Linked DNA regions of Homo sapiens: regions 2 and 3 are each linked to region 1. The links are contacts of gene promoters, found by promoter capture Hi-C in human tissues and cell types (Jung and others, 2019). All regions are on one chromosome and are shown on one strand. Each heading gives the region's core, a stretch centred on a gene start or on the middle of the fragment in contact. The rest is flanking DNA. Distances are from core to core; before and after follow the strand shown. Region 1 holds the start of AADACL2 (arylacetamide deacetylase like 2). Region 2 overlaps AADACL2-AS1 (AADACL2 antisense RNA 1). Region 3 has its middle 46 kb from the start of AADACL2.

Evidence for each region. The method cuts DNA at HindIII sites, captures the fragments that hold promoters and counts their contacts. A contact is called where the count stands out against the background at its distance.
Region 2: a fragment that was not itself captured here is called in contact with the fragment with the promoter of AADACL2 in region 1 in 2 of the 25 tissues and cell types used here (H1 embryonic stem cells and liver).
Region 3: a contact is called between a fragment that was not itself captured here and the fragment with the promoter of AADACL2 in region 1, in 1 of the 25 tissues and cell types used here (mesenchymal stem cells).

Annotation. Positions count from the first base shown.
Region 1 is chr3:151,732,021-151,735,755 of GRCh38, forward strand. It overlaps AADACL2 (arylacetamide deacetylase like 2), which reads left to right and starts at 1,907. Exons shown (of 5, transcript NM_207365.4): 1 at 1,907-2,153. The coding sequence starts at 2,016. The HindIII fragment of the contact is 19,032 bases long and covers 1-3,735 here.
Region 2 is chr3:151,780,147-151,783,881 of GRCh38, forward strand. The region is part of intron 1 of AADACL2-AS1 (AADACL2 antisense RNA 1); the gene reads right to left. It also overlaps the pseudogene AADACP1. Among named protein-coding and RNA genes, the nearest start is that of AADAC, 32 kb to the right of the region's middle. The HindIII fragment of the contact is 5,160 bases long and covers 1-3,735 here.
Region 3 is chr3:151,686,052-151,689,786 of GRCh38, forward strand. No RefSeq gene overlaps it. Among named protein-coding and RNA genes, the nearest start is that of AADACL2, 46 kb to the right of the region's middle. The HindIII fragment of the contact is 4,948 bases long and covers 1-3,735 here.

The DNA.
Region 1 (3,735 bases), core at 657-3,156:
ATCGATCATACATTATATTTATATATCCATATCTATATATACATCTATATATCTATATACATCTATATATCTATATCTATATATCTATTATCTATTGTATTATATATAACATATGGATAGATACATATATTTATATATAGTTATAATATATAAATTTCTATATATAATTATATATACATATATAATATATAAAGATATATAAATTTATATGTTATATACACACATATTTATATATATTTATAATATATAAATTTATATATAATTTATTATATATACATATATAATATATAACTATACAATATATAAATTTATATATTGTATAGTTATAATATATAAATGTGTGTCTCTATCCATATATTAGCATGTATATATGCATATGTGTGTGTGTGTGTGTGTGTGTATATATATATAAAAAAGTGTAAATTGGCCCATGCAATTATCTAGGCAAAGAAGTCCCACAGTATGCTGTATATAAGGTGGAGAACCAGAACCAGGAAAGTTAATGTTCTATAAAACCAGTCTGAGTCTGAAGACCTGAGAACTGGGAGCAGGGAGGTGGTGTCTGGTGTGAGTTTCAGAGTCTAAGGGCATAGGAACTAGGAGCTCTGATATCCAAGGGCAGGAGAAGATGGATGTCTGTTGTGGTTTGTTAAGTGAAGAAGAATTTAAGTTAGGTTTGGTGTAGTCAGGTACAGCACAATTAGACTACAATTACTTGCAGATTCCAGAAAGAGGAGTGTAAAATGCCTTGCAGAGCCAATGGAAAGGGTGAGGCAGTCAAGGACACTGTCTCTCACCCAGCAGATGAAAAGCAAGTGAGAGATGGAGGGACCTATGGGTAGAACCCTTTATTGGGGTTCAGGATTACCTAGATGGGTTTTCCACAACAGAGTTGGATTGGTTAATTTGAAGGAAGCATGAGTTTAAGTGTGAGAACTTGGGTTACATGATTGTGTTCACCAGACTTAAAGCAAAAATAAGGCAGCAAATGGGACCACATCTATGTTGAAACAGAAACTGGGTGGAGACTGTCTCAAAATATGTAGGACATTTGTGACAAGCTGGGGACGGACCAAGAAGGTGGTGCTGAGGCAGCACTAATATGAATTAGCGTTACAACAATGTCCCAGCCCAAGAAGAGAGTGAATTTACCTTTCCTTCACATTTTTGTTCTGTTCAGTCCATCAATGGATTGGATTCTGCCCACCCACACTGGGGAAGGTGATTTTCTTCATTCACTCTACCAGTTCAAATGCTGATTTTTTCCAGAAACACTCTCAAAGACATACCTAGAAATACTTTTTTACAAGCTATTTACTGTTCACAAGCATCCCTTAGCTCAGTCAAATTGACACATAAAGTTCATCATCATACTATGTAATCCTCTAAGAAAACAGATAATTGCACTGAGCTTCCAGGCTTAGTCTATGGAAAAATTCTAGTTTGATGCTTAATAGAACTCGGACAAGTTGCCTCATTCCTTGTTTTTTAATCCAAAACTTGTTTCACCACAAGAAAGTTTTGTTAACATGTTTAATAATCCATGATAATGGCATTAGCCTGGATTTTGACTTAATATCAGCAAGCTAAAAAAAAAAAACCTGTTCTTAAAATATGTTGCAACCACCACCCAATCACAAAAATTTACTTCATGACTTATTCAGTGCTGTCATTTAGGTTCATTTAGGTTTCATTTAGGTTTAAGTCTCAATAATAAAGTTGTTTTGGGCTGATGATGGTATCACAGGGTGAAGAAACACTGTAAGAGTATTACATTGCATGATAATAATGCATGCACGCCCTCATGAATTATGAGATCTGTTCCAGTCTGTGTGCTTGCAAAACAAGTTACTACTGACACTGTAACATTTGAATTGAAAATTAGCTTCATGTTGTTAAGATGATCATATCACCTGAGAGAGTTCCCAAGTCTACAATTGCTCTACTAGTTACTATTCAGTGTTTGTGAAAAATTTTAATCTCAGTACTGTGAAGAAGCTGGAAAAAGGGATATTATGGGGCTAAAAGCTCTCTGTTTGGGGCTGCTTTGTGTTCTTTTTGTCTCTCATTTTTACACACCCATGCCAGACAACATTGAAGAAAGCTGGAAAATAATGGCCTTGGATGCCATCGCTAAAACTTGTACATTTACGGTAAGGTTAACATTTATTTTTTCTGTTGGAAATTGGGATGACTTATTGACTAAAAATGGGTGCTTATGAACTCTTTTATTAATAGTATTAATATCACCATTTTGAAAGAACCATTGCTTGTTTGAGTAAATTAATTAAACAACATTAAGTAAATAAAACTCCCTATATCTGTGAGTAACAGTGAGACAGAATTCTCAATTCTAAGACTTTATGTCTAAACGTGACATGTATAAAATAAATTTATTGTGACATGTATAAAATAAATGGTATTGCTAAAGGAAAAGGCTTTGAGGTTTATTTGAGAACTTGACTTAAATTTGAACTTTCAGGGACAACCTAGTCCTGTAATTATCTTTTAGTTGTTTAGATACACATTATTGATATTTGTAACTCTTTGATATTAATTTAAGGCTCTTATTATTTAATGGCTTTCATTGTCCATCTTCAATTCTAAATTGCTGGTTTTCAGGCATTATCTGACTTGGCATGTGCAGAATGAATTATAAATTCATGCAAAAATAGCTCCTTTAAAAGGGAGAGATAGGGTTAGAAACTAATATTTTTGAGTTCTTAAGTTGTATAGGCTTTGTATAATATGTACTTCCATTGATTCCCCGCTATCCTGCAATTATTTTTATCAGGTTATGGGGTTGGGGAAGAGATTGAGAAGAACATATGCAGGTAAAAAGTAACAACTCCATAATTTGAACTATAAACTGTCTCATTTTGAAACCCATACTCTTTCTGCCAAGCCAGACAGCTTCCAGAAAGGGTAACAATAAGAGGCTCAAAGGAGAAGGCCACAGAAGATGATCAGAAAAAAAGAGAGCAACCCATGGTATAAAAAGAAGAGGCTGTCTTATGATGCTTTGTACAGCAAACAGTATATTTGCTTTGTGAAACCACAGTCAACTCCTTCTGATGTCTGCTAATAGTTTCCCCTGTAATCACTTCTAGAGGCTTACCTTCTCCATAAATTTTCTCCAATGCTCTTACTTCTTGAGTAAGCATAAGTGGGTAAGCAAGTGTCACTTCCACAGAGAAAATACTATGCTCCCTTTCTTGATTATCTAATTTGTATCTCAGGGCATTAACTTGTTTAAACCCTACTACAACCCACTGAAGTATTATTATTACTGTCATATAGACAAGGAAATTGAGCTACAGAGAGTAATTTTCTCAATGTCTATCAGCTAGTAAGTAGTAGCATAAGATGCTGGTTTAAATGGATGCAGACTTGGCTTTGACATTTACTGGCTACAACTTAGAGTTTCTGCATACTTCCTCGTCTTTAAATTATAAGGGTTAGCATGGTGGCTCACGATTGTAATTTCAGTACTTTGGGAGGCCAAGGCAGGTAGATCACCTGAGGCTAGGAGTTCAGGACCTGCCTGGCCAACATGGGGAAACCCCATCTCTACTAAAAATACAAAAATTAGCCAGCTGTTGTGGTGCACGCCTGTAATCCCAGCTACTGGGGAGGCTGAGGCAGGAGAATCACTTGAATCCAGGAGGCGGAGGTTGCAGTGAGCTGAGATCGTGCCATTGCACTCTAGCCTGGATGACAGAGCAAGACTCCTTC
Region 2 (3,735 bases), core at 500-2,999, 48 kb after region 1:
AATTTAAGGATACCTCCTTCAAAAATTAAAATAAGAAGCAGACAACAATAATAGTAAGCTGAAAGACTGCTGGAATAACAACACATTTCGTGTAATGGATGTATAAAGAACAGAGGAACAAGCAAGCACACAAGGATTTTTTTTTTTAAATGGATGATGTACTGGGCTATGATGCTTTTATTATCTTTTAAACACCTTTTAAATGTTCTCCACATTTAGAGCAATATTTATAGGAATTTGTATATCCTTAAAAGCATATATTAGAAAATAAGAAAGGCTAAAATTATGTATCTGACTCAATAATTCTTTTTAAAAAAGAACAGACGTCCCTAAAAATACAAAGGAGATAATAATAGTGATAATATCAGAAATTATGATATTCCTAACAAGCTTCAGTAGTATGAATGAAAAGTAAAAACTTAATACTTTGAAAAGATGAATAAAATTGTAAAATCTCTAGAAAGACAAGCAGAGAGAAACAGATTAATGACAGAATTGAAAAAGGGGTAAGATTGTATGTAGATCCTTCAGAAATAAAAAAGAATTAGCCTTTAATAAGTTAATAATGCACACTGTAAGTCTTAAAAGAGATATTTTGAAAAACTTTTCAATTAAAACAAAATGGAAAAATATGTAAATAATCAAATTCCAAGAAAAATATAACTCACCAGATAGACACGAGAAATAAAAATCTGAGTCATTTAATAACTACTAAAATAATTAAATCAGTACAGGTTGAATATCCCTAATTTGAAAATTCAAAATTCAAAATGCTCCAGAATGTAAAATGTTATGAGCACCAATATGACACTCAAAGAAAATGCTAACTAGAGCATTTTGGATATTAATTTTTTGGATTGGGGATGCTGAACTAGTAGGTATGATACAAATATTCCAAAATAAAATTAAAAAAAAAAAACAGAAATCTGAAACATTTTTGTCCCACGCATTTTGAATAAGAGATACTCAAAATACAGTACCAGTAGAAAACCTCATTGGTAATACACGTTAAACATTCAAAGATGAAATAATTCCAAATAAACATGAAGTATGCCAGAGGATAGGAAAACTGTGTATATTCTCTGATTTATTTTCAGAGAAGCATATTTTTTATAACCAATCAAGCAAGAGCAGATTGTTGTCAGGAAACAAGAGCAAATTAATTTCAGGAATAAAACAATGAACCAATAACACGCATAAAACTAAGATATTAGCAACATGAACAAAATATACCATTATCAAGTTGCTAATAATGGAAGGAAACTGTATTTTATAAAAATCAGTTAATTTCCCTCATATTAGTAAATTACAGAAGCAAAATGATATAGCATCTCACTAGATGCAGAAAAAGAATTTGGGAAAAGTCACAATAATTGTTATCATTATTGGTTAACTAGGAATAGATAGAATTTCCTTAACCAGATAACCTACGTGGATTAAAAATGCGCACAGGTGGTATAATTCTAAAGAAACTTGCAATGTTAAATACCATAAAATAAAGAGTGATGATTTCTGGGAGGGAAGAAAGGTAAATGATCAATTCAGGGCATATGGTGAACTCCCTGAACCTTACAAATATTTGTTCTATTTTGCATTTCTGTTTTATGAAGCTATGTGCTTTCTTTTCTTTTCTTTTTTTTTTTTTTGACGGAGTCTCGCTCTGTCGCCAAGCTGGAGTGCTGTGGTGCCATCTCGGCTCACTGCAACCTCCGCCTCCCGGGTTCAAGCAATTCTCCTGCCTCAGCCTCACAAGTAGCTGGGACTACAGGCGTGCGCCACTATGCCCAGCTAACTTTTGTATTTTTAGTGGAGACGGGGTTTCACCATGTTGGCCAGGATGGTCTCGATCTCTTGACCTCGTGATCCGCCTGCCTTGGCCTGCCAAAGTACTGGGATTACAGGCGTGAGCCACCGTGCCCAGCCTATGTGCTTGATTTTCTATGTTTATTTTATTTAATAATAAAGGATTAATAAAATAACTGCACATTCAAAGATTTAGTTACCTGTAAAATTGAATTTATTGGTAAAACATAAAATATTTTTGTGTTTTTCCTTATCTAAAATCAGCCACCTATTAGCTACCTACTTAATTATTTACCACACCTCTACTAATGTAAACAGCATCTTTCATACTAGATATTGAGCTAAATGGAATGTGTGTGGCAATCTTACTTCAGCTATAACACTAAACTGATTATTTAAATTCAGAAATTATTTTTACATAAAAAATATTCTAATGGACTTATAAATATTTTATTTTGCTAAGTGGTTCCCGTTATTAACTTTGTTTTAAATGTAATAAAATAAAATTTGCTGCTATTTGGTTTTACTGCTGTATGTGCATATTTTATTTTATTTTTTATTTTTAGAAAGTGTTATATTTATGTTAAAGGAAGAATGTCAGCATGCTGTACTTTCTTCAACACTATATAGAAAATGCTGTTGCGAGTTTTCAGAAATAGACTTCCAATTTACCCATTAAACTTCGGTCTGAGAAGCACCCAAATGCATGTAGCTTCAATAATCACTATTTATGACCTATACCAGTGGATCCCAAATTTTAACTTGCATCAGAATCACCTGAAGTCCTTCTTAAAACTCAAATTGCTGGTCTCTACTCCCCTAATTTAGTACCCCATTAACAAGAAACATTTAGCACACCCTGAAAATATGCATGTTGATTTATAGATAATATTTCTCTTAACACCACTATAATTTGAATATTTAAAACATGAAAATTAAAATGAATTAGATTTTTATAGCAGGAATGAGAATCCTAATATGTTCTTGCTCAACTTTAATAAATATTTTTGTATTTATGGCTCCCAATCTCCCACAAAACACCTGAGAGAGTTATTTTCTAATTAGGATACCACTGCCCTATAGAAATTAAAAAAGATAATTATACAGATGATTGCAGCATGAAGAGAAAGAACACACTTGGAATACTCCCATTTAGAAAACAAATCAATCTGACCCACCTGTTTCACAGAGGGACTATAGGACTTACTCAGAACTAATTCGTTCAGTGTTAAAGCCAAATTAGAATTCTTAGTTATTTGATCCTTTTCTTTTTCTTTTTTTTTTTTTTTGTTTTTTGTTTTTTGTTTTTTGTTTTTGAGACGGAGTCTTGCTTTGTCACCCAGGCTGGAGTGCAGTTGGCCAGGCTGGAGTGCAGTGGCACAATCTCGGCTCACTGCAACCTCTGCCTCCCAGGTCCAAGCGATTCTCCTGCCTCAGCCTCCCCAGTAGCTGGGATTACAGGCGTGTGCCACCATGCTGGCTAATTTTTCTATTTTTAGTAGAGACGGGGTTTTACCATGTTGGCCAAGGCTGGTATCGAGCTCCTGACCTCAGGTGATCCACCCACCTTGGCCTCCCAAAGTGCTGGGATTACAGGCATGAGCCACCGTGTCCAGACTGAGATTTTGCTTTTTAATCACAGATTAGATGGTCTCTTTCCCCACCAATGAAAAAAATAGCACAAATCATTTTGCTTATATTAATAGTATTAAATTATAGATTCCTATAATATTGAAAATGGGAAAGTTCCTGAGATACATTTTTGTTGTTTCTGATTATCTTGTTGAGAATCTTAATTAATGGCACATCAATATATTGTTTTTAAATAAAAATGTTTTCAAATGAAAATTATTCAAGAAACTTATTTTTAATTGTTTTTCAGCTCATAGAAGACCCAGATGTCAAGATCAAACTCAAGCTTCAGTCTTTAAT
Region 3 (3,735 bases), core at 868-3,367, 46 kb before region 1:
ACATGATTTTTGCCAAAAATAATGTAAAACTTCATTGGCTTTTTGGAAAGCTTAAATTCTTCCTCTGTGTTTTGAAATGTAAATTTGCTACCTTGCCCTCTAAAACTTGGTAAAGGCTTCAGTCATGTGAGACACATAAACCTTAACTTGTTCTGTTTACAAAGGCATAGTTTGAATACAGCTGTCCTTTTAAACTAATGAGTTTTACTTTTCTCATGGCTAAAATTTAAAAATCAAAGCTATAAAACCTTTTTATTTTATGTATACATGTGTACAGGTCTATGTTTGCATATTGTCTTCATGGTACTAGTCTGAGGGACCCAGAGGCAGACAACAGCGGAAGCTTGGGGCACAGTGTAGGTGAGCATGACTAATTCCTGCTGATTAGGCTCTCCCACTTTGTGGTTGGAGGTCTCACTCATATGCATGGCATAGATGAGGTCTAGGGAACTCAAAGGTTAATGACAGTGGGAGGCTTTGGCACTATGTAGGAGAGTGAATATTCCTGCCAGCTATGCCTTCCCGCTTCGTGAGTGAAGGTTGCATTTTCACCCATGGTCAGCATCTGCAATGGTTTATTACCAGTATGGTACTAAATTGACTTATAAATAAATAAGCACTCATAAATTAATATGCCCAAATGCTTTTCAGGTTCACGTGAGTTGAATAACTCTTTTGGTAAATACGGTTGCTATTAAACTAAAGTAGTTTAGTATTGTTATTTTAATAAAACAACTACGTCCTCTGAGTTATCCAGAAAATATACATATTTAACTTCAAAGTTCTCGCTTTTTTCATACTTGCCTAACAAACAGTAACATAAAAATGGCAAATAGGAAATTTAACTTGAGATAATGGCTGTATTTGTCTAACATGAAAATTTCCAAACAACTGTCAAGAATGAATAAAAGTTATAAATTAACTTTTAACAATAATTATGTTTTATAATACGTTTGCTTAAAATGGTTTTTCAAATATTTTTAATAACTATACCCTCAGAATTTTGCTAAGCTATATTAAATGATGAATATTTGTTGTTTTAGCAGTGGTGAATCTGTACAGGTCTGCAGCAACTCGATTTTTGCCTTCTCAGAAGGAAGAGTTCAGCCAAGGAGCATAAGGCAGGGTGAGAGACAGACAAGGTTTAGAGCAAGAGTGAAAGTTTATTAAAAACTTTTAGAGCAGGAACAAAAGGAAGTAAAGTACACTTGGAAAAGGGCCAAGCAGGAGACTAGCGAGATCCAAGTGCTCTGTCCAACCTTCGACTTGGGGTTTTATACATTGGCAAGATTCTGGGCTTTGCATTTCTTCTCCCTGATTCTTCTCTTGAGATGGGCTGTCCGCATGTGCAGTGGCCTGCTAGCACTTAGGAGGAGCTGCATGTGCAGTACGTTTACTGAAGTTGTGTGCATGCTCATCTAAGGCATTTTTCCCTTACTAGTTGAGTATTCCCAAAGGAGGGTTAGACACCAGTTAAACTCCATCATTTTACCTCTTAATGTGCATGCATACGCCCACTTGCCCAACTCCTGAGATTTTACCAGGAAGCTGGTAATCACCAGCTTCAGGTGCTTTCTATCTATTGGGAGACTGCCTTTCCCTAGTACCAACTTGACCAATTATTTTAGAGAGACAGTTTAACAACCACCTGACCATCACATGATGGTCTCTTGCCATTCCTGGCATGATGGGTGGGCTCTCCTGCCCTGCTCATGTCTGCCTAAGCTACCTACTCTAACAGTTGAATATCTAAATCACTTCCATATAAGATATAATTCCAAGACATTAATAATTAATTATGAGCTTAAGTATTTATGCTTTTGACTTATTATTTCAGAGAAACAAAAGTTATTTTGATCTATTAGTAAAAAGTCCTTTTCCACATTAAAAAAATTGTTAAATTAGAAAGCCTGTGTTTTCAAATATTATAAAATTTTTATTCATAAATTCTTGGCATGTGACCGACAGTTAAAAATTGCTTATTTCTTAGGTTTTCACTATGAATTGAGTTATTAAGAGTTAAAATTCTGGCTATTACATGTTAACTGCAACTAGATGTAAAAAGAGAAATAATTCCATATACAGAAAGTATGAGAAAATAAGATGTGTCTTTGGTAAGGAAGATTATAAGAAAGACATGAAGATGTGTTTTTTGTTAAACAAAAAGTAAGTTTGCCCTTTTAAAGGTTATGTAAAGGTTGTATTATATTCAAGGAATAAAAGAATAGAATGATAACTGAATATAGAAATATAGAAAGTAGTGAAAAGGAATAGAAAAATTATAATAAGTTATAAAAGATTTATGAAAATCTTATCTTGTATATTCAAAGCTGATTGAGATTGGATGGATCTGTTTATAACATTTTATTAAAATTAGCTTTAGCATTAATTATACAAAATTTCAATAGTATTAATAAGAAATAATAAAGGATTTTTAATTTACCTTTTCAGTAAACCGTAAAAACAAAAGAGAAAGGAAGAGACAGATTCTGTTGGTCTGATACTGTCTTTATTACGTCTTTTGATTGTTTGGAAAACTGAATTCCCTCTCTATTAAAAGGTAAACGTTTTGGCTTTTGGAATTTTTGAATTATCACTTTGACTAAATGAATGACTGTTATTTCATAGTAATCAGTCTACTTTGAAATCAAGTCTTTTTTAAACCTTTGACACATTTGGAAGGCTTTCCAAAATCAAATTTCAAAGTCTAAAATTAGGTTTGTTGATCTTGAACTAACTATTGGACATTCAAAAAAAGGAAGTCCAAGAGGGACACATTAGGCTTACTGGGATGTTAAAATTATATGGGAAGCATTGTCAAATATGAAATAGTGTTTGAAATACTTTGAATTATATTTGTATGAATATGTAATTAATATGTGTTCCAAAATTGCATGAGATTTCAAACAAAAATTCTGCTGTGTCTTGGTAAGCACAGTAAATTACTTTATTCTGATGCTTTATTTTCCTTTAAAAGTTCTTTGCAAATCCTAAAGTGTTGTGTCTTCAAGAAAATTTATGAAAAGAACCACGACAAGAACTCTTGAATATAGATTTCTGATAACTTTGGAGATCATACCATTGGACTAGATTTAAAAATTCAGACCTCTAATGAAAAACTGGTGGGTTTATGAAGATTATTAATCCAACATCAATCAGAACAATAATTAATTACATGGGACTGAACTGATGAAGGACTGACATTTCTAATGACATGACATTATTTCAAACACTGCTGGTTCTTTGATTGTTTTGTTTTCCAGACCTAAAAAAACTTTTTTTTCTTTTAAGCTGTTCATAGCTTACAGCAACTTGGTAAAGTTTACTTTAGTAAACAAAAATGGAAACATTTACTTCTTCTTCCCACCTCATCCCTCCAGAATTCGGAAACTATTAGTGAGTATTCTTGTTTTATGGCAATATAGTTATTTCTATAAGTTCAACAATAATCTGTTTTCCTTTTATAACAGGACGCATTGGAAACATTGGCTATTTTTACCAACGCTTTGACTGGAATGGCATCTTTTCAGATATGGCCAGATTGCTTTGAGGGATTGAAGTTGACTTTATAGAGCCAGTAGAGTTTGAAAAGACTGGCCTCCTAACCTGTATACATGGTTCCCTTATGAGGTTCTCAACCTTGCAGTAAGTAATGTCACTTCCTGACAGGCCCAGGAAATTCAAGATGTTTTGGGACCTCAAGAAAATAGAAATTCATCCAACTTGTACAGATAT